2 separate regions of the Homo sapiens genome follow, and region 1 is linked to region 2. The links are contacts of gene promoters, found by promoter capture Hi-C in blood cells and fetal thymus (Javierre and others, 2016). All regions are on one chromosome and are shown on one strand. The core of a region is centred on a gene start or on the middle of the fragment in contact, and the rest is flanking DNA. Distances in the headings are between cores, read along the strand shown.

Region 1 (3,274 bases), core at 333-2,832, 220 kb after region 2:
GGATCCGTTTGGTTTTTCTTGTTTTCCAAAGTGCTGGAGTGAAAATTCTACCCTGGCAATAGGTAGGAGATAGATAACACAGACTGCATCTGATTTCCATGTGGCTTTTTTCCAGGATGGTTCTAAGCATATCTTTGAGATGGAAAGTGTTCGGGGTCAGCTCCAGACCATGCTCCAAACCTCACGTGATACAGCCTATCGTGAGTAAGCCCCTTCCCTAGAACTATGAAGGAGAACCTAGATGTAAGGGGTGGGAGAAAGTGGACAGAGGAAGCAGGCAGGAAAACCTCTGAGCAAGAGATTTCAGGAGAAAAGTCTCCCGTTCTTTGGGAGAGGGGGTGAAGGAGTGAGGGAACTGGAAAGGAAGGCCTTTTCTCTTCAGGTGGCCCCTGTTTTTGTCATTACCTGACTCTGGCTTTGGGGTCCCTCTGGCTGCCTGCAGGGGATCCTCTCATTCCTGGCGCTGGCTCAGAGAGACGGGAAGAGGACTCCTTTGACAGTGATAGCACAGCCACCTTGCTCAAGTGAGTTCTCCTTGTGGTTCTCCTAGCTTGTTTGCTTTCTTGGAAATCCAGGTGTTTTGTTCCTTATTTCTCCCTTTATTGCTTTTGTACCTCTTAAGAACCCAAGAGGCTTATCACTTGCCTTTCAGTTTTCATCTTTTTCTACTGTCTCCTGCCCCCTTTACTCCTTCAGGAACACAGGTATCTGTTGCCTAGTACCTGGCTTTCTCTTAACCTGCAGTCATTCTTCCCCTCTAAAGAGTTAGCTTGTTTCTGCTGAAACCTTTAAGTGAATCACAGACCTGTGTGTTATTTATAGCACTATGGTTATATAGCTTTACGACTTTGGACAAGTCTCTTGCCCTCTCTGGGTCTCAGTTTCCTCATTTGTAGAATATCACAGTTGGACAAGTGGATTCCAAAAGCTTTCCCAGCCCTAACATTCTCTACCTGATTTGCTCAGCACCCGGCCCCTGCAAGACTTGTCTCCATCTAGCTCAGCCCAAGCCCTGGAGGAGCTGTTTCCCCGCTACACCAGCCTTCGGCCAGGGCCTCCACTCAATCCCCCAGATTTTCAGGGGCTGAGAGATGCATTGGATTCAGAGCATACCCGCCGCAAGGTAAGATGCAAACGCTTCCTTTCGAAAGCAGCAAAGATTAGAAAGAGGGGACCCAAGTGTTGAAAAGGGCTGAGGGGGCCTGGCGTGGTGGCTCACGCCTGTAATCACAGCACTTTGGGAGGCTGAGGCAGGCGGATCACGAGGTCAGGAGATCGAGACCATCCTGGCTAACACGGTGAAACCCGTCTCTACTAAAAATAGAAAAAATTAGCCGGGCATGGTGGTGGGTGCCTGTAGTCCCAGCTACTCGGGAGGCTGAGGCAGGAGAATGGCGTGAACCTGGGAGGCGGAGCTTGCAGTGAGCCGAGATCATGCCGCTGCACTCCAGCCTGGGCGACAGAGCGAGACTCCGTCTCAAAAAAAAAAAACTAAAAAAGAAAAGGGCTGAGGGTTAAGAGCCTGAAAGCTGGGACTTAAATGTTTTTCTGAGGAGGGCTTTTTTGACCATTCCATCTAATATGGCACCACCTCCTTTCCAAGTAGTCAGATCGCCTTCTTATTTCTTTCATGTAGCTTATCGTTCTGATATATCTTGTTTTTTTCTCCTCTCTAAAATTTGAGGGTCCGTATCTTGTTTGTCTTAGTACTGGCTGCCTAAGGTCTAGAATATACATAACACAGAAACACTCTGTGTTTGTCGAATGGACACAAACTCTGCTAGCTTGTGCACAGGATTTACAGCTACTGGTGATATACTGAGCTTTATCTCTGTGAGCCTCTGCCTTAGTGTCTGAAGGGGACAGAGAAATAGACAAAGGAGAGGAAAAGTCAAAATCACTGGTTGCCATTTTTGGAAGCCTCTCTTTCTCCATGTTAAACCCCTTGGCATGAATGAAAGGCTTTCCCCTTTATCCTTGCTGTGTTTATTCATTGTGTCCAATGAGCTTCTGAAGGTAGGAGTAACTTTGCACATTTTGCTGTGTGGGCTGCTGCATCTCTGCCAAAAGGTTTATGGGATTTTTACTCAGGAGATCCAGGAAAAGGAGGAGCCTGGAATCTAAGCACTTATCTCCTGAAAAGGTACAGAAACATGTTGGAGATCTTGAGCCTCAAGGTGCTTGCTTCAGAATTTTCCTGATTCTCCCTCTCCAGACCTATTCTGTTCTTGGGACCCAAGCTTCTTGGCTCCAGCCCACTCCCCCACTAGAGGAGCTGGAAAGTTTGGTGCTGTGGTCATACCAAAGATGGGCAACACCCAGACTCCTCACCCTTTTCCCCAGCATTGTGAGCGCCATATTCAGAGCCTGCAGACCCGAGTGTTAGAGCTACAGCAACAATTAGCCGTGGCTGTGGCTGCCGACCGCAAGAAAGATACCATGATTGAACAACTGGACAAGGTACCAGGGTAGCAAAATGTGGGTGGGTCTCTCCATGAAGAGCATTAAGGAATAATAAATAAGTGGGTGGCCAACCAATGTTTCTTGGTACATGCTGAGAGCTGGGCAAGGGGTTGGTTTGCTGACTGTTGGGAGAAGATGGCTGTTGACCCTGCCCCTGTGGGTAGAAAGAGGCAAAAAAGTTATTTTGAAATTTCATCTTACTTGCCCTACCTAAGACCCTGGCCCGTGTGGTGGAGGGCTGGAACCGGCATGAGGCTGAGCGGACAGAGGTTCTCAGGGGACTTCAAGAGGAACACCAGGCAGCAGAGCTCACCAGAAGCAAGCAGCAGGAGGTGAGCGCCCTGGAGCATATGGCATTAGAACCTGAGTCACAGATCTCAAGATGGAAAGGGGCAGAAATAGCTCTGGAATTAGGGTTTCCAACAGATTGACCTCAGTCTTGTAGTGGCTGTCCTGACATTTCTTCTCATCCCTCCTTTCTTCTCCTTTAACCGTTTCTGCTGTCCAACTTGAATCATCAATGTCTTAATTTTTCCCACACCATGTAGTCTTCTATCTGGCCCCTTAGTCATTTAGTTAACTGTGAAGTTTCAAGTTTACATTGTCAATGCTTTATAAAATATAGCACACACAGATTTCCCACAGTTCCTCTGCCCTGTATTCCTCTCTTCCTGAAAGACAGTAACCCGCCTGGAACAAAGCCTTTCTGAGGCCATGGAGGCCCTGAATCGTGAGCAGGAAAGTGCCAGACTGCAGCAACGGGAAAGAGAGACACTGGTGAGAAGATTGGACTGGGTTAATTCCACTGGAA
Region 2 (3,260 bases), core at 383-2,882:
CACCTCTGTTGATGAGCTTCAGCAGCGTTTAATCGGATTGAGCAGTAATTAGCAAAGCGAGATGTTTGATTACCTATTTAGCATAATGTGGGGGGCTGGGATCCGTAGGCACAGCCACAGTTGGGGAGGGGGGTTTAAGAAAAGAAATGGGGTCTGTGCAAAGTTCCTTTCCCCGAGGGACCCATGAACCTTGCCCCTGAGGCTCCCCACCCCACGCCTCCAGCAAATTTTCACTCCTTTGGGACTTTTCCCTAGGGGTTCTGGCCAACCACATCACCTCTGTCTGCCACCCATGGCCTATCTGGCTAGAGGAACACCTCCACGTTCCATCTTAGCTGTGCTAGCTGTGCAGCTGGTTTTGGGGTGGGCGGTACTCCTCTCCTTCCATTCCTGCTGTCAGCAACAGGAGTCTGGCTGGGCAGGAGGAATTATTGGGGGTCGGGGGGAGGGAAAGGGTTGACACTTCTGGGAATAAAGATACGGTAGGTGGGAGGGTGAGGTCAGCGCTGGGATAGGGTGTGGTTAATCCACTTGCTCTTCAGGAGTACCAGGGACTGCCACTCCTGGTAGTGCCAGGCTGGCATAATGAGATCTGTTAGGTGTGAACGCCAAACAGAAAATGGGGGAACTGAGGTGCCAGCTTCTCTTCTCCTCATCCAGCAAAGAAAATGTCATAAATTTCGCTCCTCATGGAAATGTAATCAGTGGGCTCGCTGCTGGCTTTGTCTTAATTAGGCACTATTGATGGAAACAGGGAGGGCGCCTTCCCATCCCCCCACTCGGCTTCCTCCCTGTATTTCCCAGGTCTCCCCAAAGCTCCTCCCGGCACCAGGTACAGCGGTCTTCCAGGCGCCTTCTAGCAGCCCCGGCCCGCAGCGCCCCCTGGCACCCTCGGAGATGTACCCCGGCCCTCATAGCCCTCCCCTCTCGCCTCCTCTCTCACGACGCAGCCTTTGTTCCTATGGAGAGCGAAGCCCCTCCCAGGCCCGGTCACCTTCCCCAGGGAGTCCCCGCCTCTCATCCCCCCCAAAAACCAGCGATGCCTTCGAAAGCCAATCCTCAGATTCCCAAAACTCCAGTTCCCGTCTTCCCTCCCTTTCCCCGCCCCGCGCCGCCCCCCCGCAATCCTAGACCCCAATCCGAACTAAGAAGGGGGAAGGAGCAGGAGGGCAAGGGTGCTCCAGGCCCGGTTTTTCCCCCGGATCCAGCTGCACCCACGGCTGCCTGGAAATCCTGGAACGCCTTCTACATCGCGAATATCCCTCGCCGGCCTGGCGCCCGGCGCCATCTGCTGGACCCGTTCCGGCTGGGGCGCACAGACCTGGGCGCGGGGTCGGGCGATTGGGTTCTCCCTGCCTTTTCAATGTCCTGCGGGGCGGTGGCTCACTGTCTCTCGCCCCAGCCCTTCCAGCTGGGTCCTGACACCAGGCCCCCCGCACCCTTCGGCTCGCCAGATGTGGCTACTTTCCTTTAGTCCCGGAGCCTTCAAGCCCTGGGTCCCTGAGGGGTAGACCTGGGCGGGGTGGGGCCGCGAAGCAGGGATCCAGGGCGCCTGCGCGGAGGAGGCGGGCTCCGAGGGGCCGCACACCGGCCACTCGCCCCTCCCTGCCCGGGGTTGCCATGGGGACGCGTGCAGACGCCGGCCCGAGAGGGCTGCGAGGGGCAACTTCTTAGAGTGGCCCATCGGTCGGTCTAGGGAGGGGAGGGTCAGCGTGGCAAGGTGTGTGTCGGGGGCAGAGGGAAGGAGGGAAGGAGTGCTGGGGAGAAGGGGCAGTAGTGTCGGGGTAGGAAGGGACAGTTGTTGGGGAGAAGAGGCAGTTGTGGAGGGAGAGGGAGCAAGGAATATTTGTGTGGGGGAGGGGGAGGAGAAGGGGCAGTTGTGACAGCTGGGGGGGAAGAGCCATTCTGAGGGGAAATTTGCCTGCTGGTAACCAGTTTAAGGATACCAGCTGCTGGTATAAATACTGCTGGATAAATACTGCTGGATTTATACTGCAGGATAAATACTGCTGGCCCCTGCGGTATTTCCTAGTACTAGAGTGAGCCCCGACTTAGCAGAGCAGTTCCTCCTGGGGCCTGCGGTGTGGGATCGCGTGGTGAACCCCACGGTGCATGCGCCTCAGGCTCTAGTTTGAGGCAGGAAAGCGCAGCTTGATGCTTCTCTGGAGACTGATGGAGGAAGCCTCCTTGCTGTAGTTGGTTTTATTGATTTGCTGGCCTAACAGAACGTTTTTCCTTGGAGCAAAGTACAAATCCTTCAAGTTTGAAATTCATAACCTGAGATCAATGCCTGTGGCAGCCTGTGGGGATGAGGAAGGAGAGCCACAGGTGCCGTTAGGCTGCAGCCTAATGAAAAGAGAGTGCCCAGCGCCTCAGACTTTGCGCCTGGGATTCTGAGCACCTGTCCGAGATCCCCGCTTCCTGCCATCCTACCTTTCTGAGAGAGGCACCACTGTGACCTTCCTCGTGCCCCAATTGCTTTTTCCTCATGACACAATTTGAAATTTATGATTGGATGACTTTTGTCCTTCTTTCTTCCAATCTGTTCTCAGGGCATTTTGAGTCAAATAAATGATCCTGACTGATCTTAACCATTAGCACAGAGTTCCTCAGCCAACTCTGCTAAGAGACCTCAGTACACACAAAACAGTGTTCCTGCCCCTCAGGACTTCAAAGCGATAGACCCAGGTGGCAAATACTGTTTTTCTCTGTTTACAGATGTTGCAGATTTTAGTGGGATTGGGAGGAGCATATTTCCATTTAACTTGGGAGGAAAAGAGGTACATAGGAAAATCATCTTGGTTTGCTTGAATGATTGAACAGTGACAAAGGATGGGGGATGTGCACCCCTTCCTTGATCCTCTCTCACTCACTCATGGTCCTGGAGGGTAGAGTGGATGAGGGTTTGGGCAACCACACTTCAGCTTGATAGATCTTTTCCTGATTATCTTATGTTCTCATACCCCGGGGCAGAGATAGAGGTTCTAAATCCTCATTAGTGGGGTGTCTGGCCATCTTTTTTTTTTTTTTTTTTGAGATAGAGTCTCACTCTGTCAGCCAGGCTGGAGTATAGTAGCATGATCTTGGCTCACTGCAGCCTCTACCTCTCGGGTTCAAGAGATTCTCCTGCCTCAGCCTCCCGAGTAGCTGGAATTACAGGCACGCACCACCACTCCTGGCTAATTTTTTGTATTTTTAGTAGAGACGGGGTTTTGCCATGTTGGCCAGGCTGGTCTCGAACTCCTGACCTCAGGTGATCC

Evidence for each region. Contacts are between HindIII fragments. The CHiCAGO score rates a contact against its expected background, and 5 or more counts as called.
Region 1: a fragment that was not itself captured here is called in contact with the fragment with the promoter of DNAH2 in region 2 in 1 of 17 cell types (endothelial precursors); the score reaches 5.1 in endothelial precursors.

The regions. Positions count from the first base shown.
Region 1 is chr17:7,934,023-7,937,296 of GRCh38, forward strand. It overlaps CNTROB (centrobin, centriole duplication and spindle assembly protein), which reads left to right. Exons shown (of 19, transcript NM_053051.5): 2 at 116-200; 3 at 443-524; 4 at 967-1,123; 5 at 2,344-2,460; 6 at 2,679-2,795; 7 at 3,142-3,240. Among named protein-coding and RNA genes, the nearest start is that of CNTROB, 3.5 kb to the left of the region's middle. The HindIII fragment of the contact is 1,312 bases long and covers 927-2,238 here.
Region 2 is chr17:7,716,112-7,719,371 of GRCh38, forward strand. DNAH2 (dynein axonemal heavy chain 2) reads left to right here and starts at 1,633. Exons shown (of 86, transcript NM_020877.5): 1 at 1,633-2,688. The HindIII fragment of the contact is 13,987 bases long and covers 1-3,260 here.